Regions from separate parts of the Homo sapiens genome. Here region 1 is linked to region 2. The links are contacts of gene promoters, found by promoter capture Hi-C in blood cells and fetal thymus (Javierre and others, 2016). All regions are on one chromosome and are shown on one strand. Each heading gives the region's core, a stretch centred on a gene start or on the middle of the fragment in contact. The rest is flanking DNA. Distances are from core to core; before and after follow the strand shown. Region 1 overlaps AKAP17A (A-kinase anchoring protein 17A). Region 2 holds the start of CRLF2 (cytokine receptor like factor 2).

Evidence for each region. The method cuts DNA at HindIII sites, captures the fragments that hold promoters and counts their contacts. A CHiCAGO score of 5 or more calls a contact.
Region 1: a fragment that was not itself captured here is called in contact with the fragment with the promoter of CRLF2 in region 2 in 1 of 17 cell types (monocytes); the score reaches 5.0 in monocytes.

What each region holds. Positions count from the first base shown.
Region 1 is chrX:1,592,627-1,597,937 of GRCh38, forward strand. AKAP17A (A-kinase anchoring protein 17A) reads left to right here. Exons shown (of 5, transcript NM_005088.3): 2 at 818-1,598; 3 at 2,758-2,906. The coding sequence starts at 837. Among named protein-coding and RNA genes, the nearest start is that of AKAP17A, 3.7 kb to the left of the region's middle. The HindIII fragment of the contact is 2,741 bases long and covers 84-2,824 here.
Region 2 is chrX:1,209,769-1,215,259 of GRCh38, forward strand. It overlaps CRLF2 (cytokine receptor like factor 2), which reads right to left and starts at 2,881. Exons shown (of 8, transcript NM_022148.4): 1 at 2,788-2,881. The coding sequence starts at 2,866. The HindIII fragment of the contact is 4,372 bases long and covers 626-4,997 here.

The DNA of each region.
Region 1 (5,311 bases), core at 204-2,703, 380 kb after region 2:
GCCTGGCAGGAAGCCTCCAGGTTGATGGGGTGGGCGGCCGGGCCGGAGGCGGTCACCTGAGATGGTTGGGTTTCTGCGAGTGAAGCTTCCTCTACTTGGACTTGGCCGTCAGGAAGTGGCTGCCCGTCAGCTCAGCAGGGAAGAGGTGGGTTAATGAAGGTGGGCGGAGAAAGAAGGCGCAGACGGGGGACTCCGGCCCCTAACTTGTGGAAAGTTCGTTGTACTTTTTGGCTTTGAGTGGGTTAAAGCTGGGATACGTTTGGCCTTCGTGGAGATTACTAGGGTTCATGGTTCTGGATTGTTGTTGCAGCCCGAGACTTCCTGTTTTATCAGGGCAAGTACAGGGCCGCCGCCCCCTCCACAAAACCTTTCCAGATGCCTGCAGCTGTGCTCTCCCTGGCCCCTTCCCTTCCCCAGTGTCTCTCTGCCCCTTCCCGTGGAGCTAGGCGTTTGTAGCGTCCCCGTTCCTACTTGACCTGTGTGAGGGGCCTGGTCGTGCTCAGCTTCCTATTCTGCAGGCCTTGGGAGCTGCTGGCTGCTGGATGTAGGGTGTCGGGCAGTGCTGACCGAGGCTTTGACACTAACCTGTTCTTTATCAGCTCGGCTCTTTCCCCTTTGGTGTACTCTTAATGATTTCAAAAAGTAAAGAACTCCGTTGAGATGGCTGTTAACAAAGTGGAAACCGGTCTCTGACACGGCAGAGAGACACTGCTGTTTCTCTTCTCCGGGTCCAGAAAGTGCCTGCTGGCTTGGCCCCTCCTCATTGGCGGGGGAGGTGGGGGGTGCTGGTGCTGACTGTCTGCGTCTTATGTTTCAGGCCCAAGGTCCCGGAGGCTATGGCAGCGGCTACCATCGTGCACGACACGTCTGAGGCCGTGGAGCTCTGCCCTGCTTACGGCTTGTACCTGAAGCCCATCACCAAGATGACCATCAGCGTGGCACTCCCGCAGCTGAAGCAGCCGGGGAAGTCCATCTCCAACTGGGAGGTGATGGAGAGGCTGAAGGGCATGGTGCAGAACCACCAGTTCTCCACGCTGCGTATTTCCAAGAGCACCATGGACTTCATCCGCTTCGAGGGGGAGGTGGAGAACAAGAGCCTGGTCAAGTCTTTTCTGGCCTGCCTGGACGGCAAGACCATCAAGCTCAGCGGCTTCTCCGACATCCTGAAGGTGCGCGCGGCCGAGTTCAAGATCGACTTCCCCACCCGCCACGACTGGGACTCCTTCTTCCGCGACGCCAAGGACATGAACGAGACCCTGCCGGGGGAGCGGCCGGACACCATCCACCTGGAGGGGCTGCCCTGCAAGTGGTTCGCCCTGAAGGAGTCGGGCTCCGAGAAGCCCAGCGAGGACGTCCTGGTCAAGGTGTTTGAGAAGTTCGGGGAGATCCGGAATGTGGACATCCCCATGCTGGACCCCTACCGGGAGGAGATGACGGGCCGCAACTTCCACACCTTCAGTTTCGGGGGGCACTTGAACTTCGAGGCCTATGTGCAGTACCGCGAGTACATGGGCTTCATCCAGGCCATGAGCGCCCTGCGCGGGATGAAACTCATGTACAAGGGCGAGGACGGCAAGGCCGTGGCCTGCAACATCAAGGTGAGTCCTGGGCACCGAGAGAGCCACGCGCTTCCTCCCTCTGGCGACTTCCTTCCAGCAGGGTCAGCAGAACGCTCCCAGCCACACCCCTGAGGCTGTGGGGACCTCCCCTAAGTAAAATGGCAGCAACAGTCCTGTGCCTGTCCAATTTCAGAGGCACAGGCGTGAGGTGGAGTAGGGGTCCCGTGCTGTGGTTTTGGAAATTTGGTATCTTAAGGAAGATGTGGGGGAGACACAGGTCATATAGTAGGTGAGGGATGGAGCCTCAGGAACTCTGACAGGGATTTGAACCGTGTCAGAACCAAGAGAACCCGGCCTTCCCAGAATGCACCTTGAAACCAGGGCTGAACGTTCCCTTTAGCCTCATGTGCTTTTTTATTTTTTTTATTTTTTTTATTTTTATTTTTTTTTCGAGGCAGAGTCTCGATCTGTTTCCTGGACTGGAGTGCAGTGGCGCAATCTTTGCTCAGTGCATCCTCCGCCTCCTGGGTTCGAGCGATTCTTCTGCCTCAGCCTCCCGAGTAGCTGGGACTACAGGCGCGTGCCATCACACCTGGCTAATTTTTGTATTTTTAGTAGAAACAGGGTTTTGCCGTATTGGCCAGGCTGGTCTCGAACTCCTGACCTCATGAACTGCCTGCCTCGCCCTCCCAAAGTGCTGGGATTACAGGCGTGAGCCACTGCGCTCAGCCTAGCCTCGTGTTTTGACCGTGTTGGCTTCACAGTGACAAATGAGCCAGCCTCCTGGAGGGGGTTTTGTGGCCTTAAGATGTGCCCTGTGGGTGTGGGCAGGCGGCCTGCTCAGTGACTGTGGCCACAGGGAATGGTGGAGCCGGGTAGCGGAAGGGGAGCTGTGTCTCGCAGCGGTGGCGTGTCACTTGTGTTCAGTAAGTGGCGAGGGCTAGTTGGTGTTCCTCGCTGAGTCGTAACTCCGTGGGATGAGCTAAGTCTTGAGCCACTGATGGTGACTTGAAGGGATTGGTTTGGCTTCTGGGCTCCACTGTCTGGGTCTGCACCGGACATGAGTGGTGAGCGGTGAGCGGTGAGCGGGCGCTCAGGCTCTGAGGCCACTCGGCCCTACGGCCCAGGAGAGGGCGCCTGGCCGTGTGTCTGGGGGGTTTTGGGGGAAGGCCATCTGACACTGTTTTTGCTTTTAAAGGTTTCTTTTGATTCGACCAAACACCTGAGTGATGCCTCAATTAAGAAGCGGCAGCTGGAGAGGCAGAAGCTTCAGGAACTGGAGCAGCAAAGAGAAGAACAAAAGCGCAGAGAGAAGGAAGCGGAGGAGAGGCAGCGAGCGGAGGAAAGGTACCTTCTGCGGGAGCGGGCCCTCGGCGCTGGTGTCCGGCACCTGGGAGTGTGCGCAGACCCGTGTGCGTGTGTCTGCATGTATTCCTGTGCGTGTGTGTGTGCATGCATGCTTGTGAGCTTGTGTGTGTACCTGTGTGCATGGACGCACGTGTGCCTGTGAACCGGTGTGTGTACTTTGTATGTCCCTATGTGCGCCCGAGTGTGTGCCTGAGCATCTGTGTGCACGTGTGCCTGTGTGTGCGTGCATGTGTGTGAGCTCGTGTGTGTACCTGTGTGTGTATGTGCACGTGTGCCCACATGTGTGTGCTTCTGTATCGGCACATAGCACACATGTGCCTGTGTGCATGCGTGTGTGCCTGTGAACCCGTGTGTGTACTTGTGTGTGCACGTATGGGTGTGTGTGCAGGCCTGTGGGTGCTCAGCTGTGCACGTGAGGACCTGCGTGAGTGGCTGTTTGAGACGCAGCAGAATATGAATGTTTCTCTTTTTCTTGTCACACGTCGTGGTCTGACACGATCTCTGCCGGCTCCCAGGACCGCGCCTTGCCCGAAGAGCCACCTCTTCTCCCTCCACATGCTGTTCACACCTCCCGCTGAAACAAGCAGAATGCCTTGGCTGTTTGCAAGTTTGCATTTAGGTTGAGGCTACATTTACAAAATGAAGTAGAGGGTTGATGGTGATGGCCAGATTTAAAAAAAAAAAAAAAAACAAAAAACCAATGATAGGACAAAAACCCGGTTTCACATAAGAGGCCTTTAAAGCAATTGCCTGGGTCGTTCACTGTGGTTGGGGTACCAGAGACAACCTCAGGTCACTCTTTGTAGCCCCTTTTATCTTCTTAGCATTGCAGGAGGGAACCAACAACTTTCTGTGAATCCCCTGAGGCGGAATCCTCCTCCTCCTCCTCCTCCTCCATCCCTCCCACCCTCCTAGTGAGGTGGATTCCTCCTCCTCCTCCTCCATCCCTCCCACCCTCCTAGTGAGGCGGAATCCTCCTCTTCCTCCTCCATCCCTCCCACCCTCCTAGTGAGGTGGATTCCTCCTCCTCCTCCTCCATCCCTCCCACCCTCCTAGTGAGGTGGATTCCTCCTCCTCCTCCTCCATCCCTCCCACCCTCCTAGTGAGGTGGATTCCTCCTCCTCCTCCTCCATCCCTCCCACCCTCCTAGTGAGGTGGATTCCTCCTCCTCCTTCTCCGTCCCTCCCACCCTCCTAGTGAGGTGGATTCCTCCTCCTCCTCCTCTTCCTCCTCCATCCCTCCCGCTGTGCCCTCCTAGTGAGGCGGATTCGTCCTCTTCCTCCTCCATCCCTCCTGCCGTGTCCTCCTAGTGAGGTGGATTCCTCCTCCTCCTTCTCCGTCCCTCCCACCCTCCTAGTGAGGCGGAATCCTCCTCCTCCTACTCCTCTTCGTCCTCCGTCCCTCCCGCTGTGTCCTCTGACGACTTTGGTGCGTCCTGCACGTCTGTTGCGCTTCATGTCGCCGATATCAAGTCTGGGACGTGTTGGACTTGGCTGGGGGGCTCCTGGACAGCCTCTGGTGGGACCGAGTTGGTCCGTTTTGTTTCCATTTCTCACTGCTTTATGTGACGCTGGTGCCAGCGTGTTGATGTGTGTGGCTGGTGATGTTTGCACGAGAGTCCCGGCACTGAACTCCTGGGAGCAGGTCCATCCTGCCCGTGGTGTTCTTTACGTAGCCCCCGTTGCCTCCCCAGGGGAGAGTCGGGTTGTCAGCCTCTGAATCTGAACCCCGAGGGCTCCTTAGGTGAGGCAGGTGCAGTGTGTAAGCGAGTGGCCGTGAATGTGCTGGGGGGGCCCATGTCAGCCGTCAGGATTCCCAGGACCTAAGGCAGGCAGCACAGAGAGGCAGACGCCCTGGGAGGGAGGGACATGCTGCTGCGTCGCCATCCTGGGAGGCGGTCCCTGGGAGGGGCGGTTCGGATGTGGGGTTGAGTCCGGGTCCCCTGTGTCAGCCACTGTCAGGCCGAGCAGGACAGCTGGGGTGGGAGACAGTCCTGGGGCGTTACAGGGACTCTTCCAGGCTGCAGACACAGCCCAGGCCTGGCTGAATGTGCCTGTCCACATTCTGGAAGTGTGGAGTGGGACTCAGAGCCTCGGACCTCTCGGTGTCGCAGGAGTGTCCCCGCAACATTTCAGAAAGCAGCTTGCGGGTGCGGAGAAGAAGCTGCATCCTTGATCTTTCCCTGAGGAGAGATGGACGTTGGAGTAGTGGAGTGTGTCTCTGCAGGGAAGGGACCCCGTCTGCCTGGCCAGACCACAGAGGGATTGGGGGAAGCGGGGCCGGGCCATGAGGTTCTCGAGAGCAGGATGGGGTGTCCAGAGCCCCGGGGAGGGGCAGGCCTGTTGTCTGGGGGAGCTGGCCAGGAGGGCTCCACACGCAGGGCC
Region 2 (5,491 bases), core at 1,631-4,130:
CCACCTTACTGTCTTTCTCAAAACACCACACACACCAACTTCAGAAATGGACTGGCCAGGTGCAGCGGCTCACGTCTGTAATCTTAACACTGGGAGGCCGAGGCGGGTGGATCACCCGAGGTCAGGAGTTCGAGACCAGCCTGGCCAACATGGTGAAACCCCGTCTCTACTAAAAACACAAAAAAATGAGCTGGACATGGTGGTGGGTACCTGTAATCCCAGCTACCTGGGAGGCTGAGGCAGGAGAATGGCTTGAACTCAGGAGGCAGAGGTTGTAGTGAACCGAGATCGTGTCACTGCACTCCAGCCTGGGTGACACAGCAAGACTCCCTATCAAAAAAAAAAAAGAAAAGAAAAGAAAAGAAAAGAAAAGAAAAGAAATGGGCCAACCGTAAAGAAGACTTTCTACGTTTGCTAGGAAGGTTGCATAGACTTCAGTAGGTTTGATGTTTCAAGAGGTCTGGGTTTGTAATTCCGAACAGGGACAATGGAAATATTTTAGAATTGAGCAAACATGTAATGATATTTTGCATAATGAAAGCCAAGTCTCTTTTTTTTATTTTGAGACAGAGTCTCGCTCTGTCGCCCACGCTGGAGTGCAGTGGTGCGATCCCGGCTCACTGCAAGCTTTGCCTCCCGGGTTCATGCCATTCTCCTGCCTCAGCCTCCCAAGTAGCTGGGACTACAGGCACCTGCCACCATGCCCGGCTGATTTTTTGTATTAGTACAGACGGGGTTTCACCGTGTTAGCCAGGATGGTCTCCATCTCCTGACCTTGTGATCCGCCCACCTCGGCCTCCCAAAGTGCTGGGATTACAGGCATGAGCCACAGCGCCCGGCCAAGTCTCTCACTGTCAAAGAAGTCAGTTACAGGTTTGGAAAGATGGGGTACAGTGAACCTTGTCATGTTGGGTTCTAAGTGGAGGTATCTGGAGGATAGATAGATACAGATAGATAGATAAATGGTAATGTTAGATAGATAGAATTATATAGATGATGATAGAAATAGTTAGACAGACAGACACAGATAGATAGGGATGGGTAGGTAGATGGATGAATCAATGGACAGGTGGGTGTATAGGTGGAAGACAAGTGGATGGGTGGGTGGATGGGTGAGTGGATGGATGAATAAATGGATGAACAGATACACAGGTGAATGGGTGGATGGGTGGATGGATGCATGGATAGATGGATACATAGATGTGTACATGGATGGGTGGATGGATGGATGGATGAGTGGATGAAAGTGTGGGTGAATGCATAGGTGGATGGATGGTTTGATGGGTGGGTGGATGGATGTGTTGGTGGATGGATGGATAGATGGATAAGTGGATGAAAGGATGGGTGGGTGGATGAGTGAGTCAGTGGATAAATAAATGGATGAACAGATACATAGGTGAATGGATGGATGGATGGATGGATGGATGGATGCATGGATAGATGGATACGTAGATGTGTACATGGATGGGTGGGTGGGTGGATGGATGGGTGGATGGATGGATGGATGGATGGATGGATGGATAAGTGGATAAAAGTGTGGGTGAATGCATGGATAGATGGATGTATTGGTGGGTGGATGGGTGGATGGGTGGATGGATGGATGGATGGATGGATGGATGGATGGATGGATGGATAAGTGGATAAAAGTGTGGGTGAATGCATGGATAGATGGATGTATTGGTGGATGGATGGGTGGATGGGTGGATGGATGGATGGATGGATGGATAAGTGGATAAAAGTGTGGGTGAATGCATGGATAGATGGATGTATTGGTGGATGGATGGGTGGATGGATGGATGGATGGATAAGTGGATAAAAGTGTGGGTGAATGCATGGATAGATGGATGTATTGGTGGATGGATGGGTGGATGGATGGATGGATGGATAAGTGGATAAAAGTGTGGGTGAATGCATGGATGGATGGATGTATTGGTGGATGGATGGGTGGATGGGTGGATGGATGGATGGATGGATGGATAAGTGGATAAAAGTGTGGGTGAATGCATGGATAGATGGATGTATTGGTGGATGGATGGGTGGATGGATGGATGGATGGATAAGTGGATAAAAGTGTGGGTGAATGCATGGATGGATGGATGTATTGGTAGATGGATGGGTGGATGGGTGGATGGATGGATGGATGTATTGGTGGATGGATGGGTGGATGGGTGGATGGATGGATGGATGGATGATAGATGGGTGGATGGGAGGATGGATAGATAACAGCTGGGTGGATGGTGGATGGATGGATGAGTGAATGAAAGGTTGGGTGGACGGATGGCTGGGTGGGTTGATGGGTGGGTGAATGTATGAGTGGATGAATCGTTTGATAGATGGGTGGATGGATATATTAGTGGATGGATCAATGAATAATAGATGGATGGATAGTGGATGGATGGGTGATTAATGGGAAAAGATAGATGAGATACATTGATGGATAGATTAAAAATGAATATATCTACCAATCAATCAATCAATAGATAGACACACACACGCACACATACAGTTCCTAGTTCTGGCCACCGAAAGCTCATATAAGCAGTGGATATTCCGGGAGCAATAAGTATACTTAATATTCATGTATTTACTTATAAATATGTTTTGTCCCAGCTACTTGAGAAGCTGAGGCAGGAGAATTGCTTGAACCCGGAAAAAAAAAAAAAAAAAAAAGAAAAGAAGAAAGAAACCTCCATGCTCATTGTTTAAGTTTTACAAAATAAAGAGTGCCTGGTTGCAAAGCAAACCACAAACCAAAATACAACAAGAAGAGGGTGTTTAAATAATTACCTGCTCCTCCTTGCCCCAAAGCCATCCAGCCTCCCAGCAGAAAGACGGCAGCTCCCCACAGCAGAACCAGCCGCCCCATGCCTGAAACAGGAGTGGAGAGTGAGGTCCTCAGGGACCTACAACGAACAGATCACTCATGACTCATAAGCAGAGGTCACCATCGATTTTAAAAAGTCAGAAAGGAAACTAGGGAAATGATTACAGGCAGGAAGCACAGTGACAGTTGATTTTCAAAGATACACTTGTCAAGAACACACACACACACACACACACACACACACACAATCAATCCAGGATCAGGACTGCCACGCACACTGCTGAGCTGAGCCCTCCCCTTCCCTCCCCCTCCCCCATCTCCTCCCCCTCCCCTCCATTCCCTTCCCTCCCTCCCCCTCCCCTCCCCTCCCCTCCATTCCCTCCCCACTCCCCTCCCCTCCCCCTTCCCCTCCCCTCTCTTTCCTTCCTTTCCCTTCCCCTCCCCTCCCCTCTCCCCTCCCCTTCCCCCTCTCCCCTCCCCTTCCCCCTCCCCTCCCCTCCCTTCCCTTCCTTTCACTTCCCCTCCCCCTCCCCTCTCCCCTCCCCTCCATCCCCTCCCCTCCCCTCCCTTCCCTTCTGCCTCTCCCCCACCCCCTCCTCCCTCCCCTCCCCCTCCCCCTTCCCTTTCCTCCCCTCCCCTCCTCCTCCCCACCTCCCCTCCCCCTCCCCTCCCCCTTCCCTCCCCTCCCCCTTCCCTCCCCTCCCTTCCCTTCCTTTCCCTTCCCCTCCCTTCCCCTTCCCCCCCACCCCACCCCCTCCCTTCCCATCCCCCTCCCATCCCCTCATCTTTTGTCCCCCTCCCTTCCCCCACCCCCTCCACCTATCCCCTCCCCTCCCCTCCATGGATGGTATATGGATGGATGGATAAGTGGATGAAAGGATGTGTGGATAGGTGGGTGGATGGATGGATAAATGGATGAACAGATACATAGGTGGATGGGTGGATGGATGCATGCATAGATGGATACGTAGATGTGTACATCCCCTCCCCTCCCTTCCCCTCCCCCCTCCCCCCACCCCCTCCTCCCTCCCCTCTCCCTCCCCCTTCCGTCTCCTCCCCTCCCCCTCCCCTCTCCTCCCCTCCCCCTCCCCACCTCCCCTTCCTTTCTCTTGCTTTTCCTTTCTTTTTTTTTGAGCTGGAGTCTCACTCTCTGTCACCCAGGCTGGAGTGCAGTGGCACGATCTTGGCTCACTGCAACCTCCTCCTCCCGGGTTCAAGCGATTCTCCTGCCTCAGCCTCCTGAGTAGCTGGGATTACAGGCGCCCACCACCACGCCTGGCTAATTTTTATATTTTTAGTAGAGATGGGGTTTCACCATGTTGGCCAGGCTGGTCTCAAACTCCTGACTTCAAGTGATCGGCCCGCTTCAGCCTCTCAAAGTGCTGGGATTATAGGCGTGAGCCACCGTGCCCAGCTTTTCTTTCCTATTCTTTGAGACAAGGTGTTCGTCTGGTACCCACGCAGGAGTGTTGTGGTGCAATCAGGACTCACCACAGCCTCAAACAGCTTGGCTCAAGCAATCCTCTTGCCTCAACCTCCCTAGTAGCCGGGATTACAGATGCATGCCACCCACCCTGCTGATTTTTGTATTTTTCATAGAGACGGGGTTTCACCATGTTGACCAGGCTGGTCTCAAACTCCTGGACTCAGGTGATCCACCCGCCTCGACCTCCCAAAGTGCTGGGATTATAGGCGTTAGCCACCGCACCTGGCCTGAGCTTTGCTTGAAAGCATATCACAGAGCAGCCTGGCCAACATGGCGAAACCCTGTCTCTACTAAAAAAAAAAATACAAAAATTAGCCAGGCGTGGTGGCACGCACCTGTAATCCCAGCTACTCAGGAGGCTGAGACGGGGAGAATCGCTTGAACCCAGGAGGCAGAGGTTGCAGCGAGCCAAGGTCACACCATTGCACTCCAGCCTTGTTGACAGAGCGAGACTCTGTCTCAAAAAAAAAAAAAAAATATGACATGCTAACTTTCTAAGCCCGGAATTCTTGCTCTCTGCTAAATGATGAGACTCGTGGATGAGTGTGCAGTTGTGTGGTCAGTGTTCTGTGATATACTCTGCACCCAAGCTGGGCTGGACATCCAGAGACTTCATAGTTCATCTGTCTTCAGACAAACGCAGAGTTCACCTTTGCCGCTGACCAGCTTCCCAGACCAAGGGACTCAAGCTTGTAGGCATTCTCCTCGTAACACCACAAACACTGTGATGGTAGCATATGCTGGGTAGATGGGGCCCCAGTTTAAGACTGTAGAGGACCGGGCACGGTGGCTCACGCCTGTCATCCCAGCACTCTGGGAGGCCGAGGCCGGAGGATCCCCTGAGGTCAGGAGTTCGAGACCAGCCTGGCCAACACGGTGAAACCCCGTCTCTGCTAAAAATACAAAAATTAGCCGGGCGTGGTGGTGGGTGCCTGTTATCCCAACTACTCAGGAAGCTGAGGCAGGAGAATGGCGTGAACCCGGGAGGCGGAGTTGGCAGTGAGCTGAGATCGTGCCACGGCACTCCAGCCTGGGCGACAAGAGCAAGACTCCGTCTCAAAATATATAAATAAATAAATAAGTGAATAAATAAAAGTCTGGAGAGAGCTGGTTGGAACAGACATGTCATCTTAAAAGATCTCGGCTCATGCCTGGAGATTCCTTGCGGTCAAAACACAAGT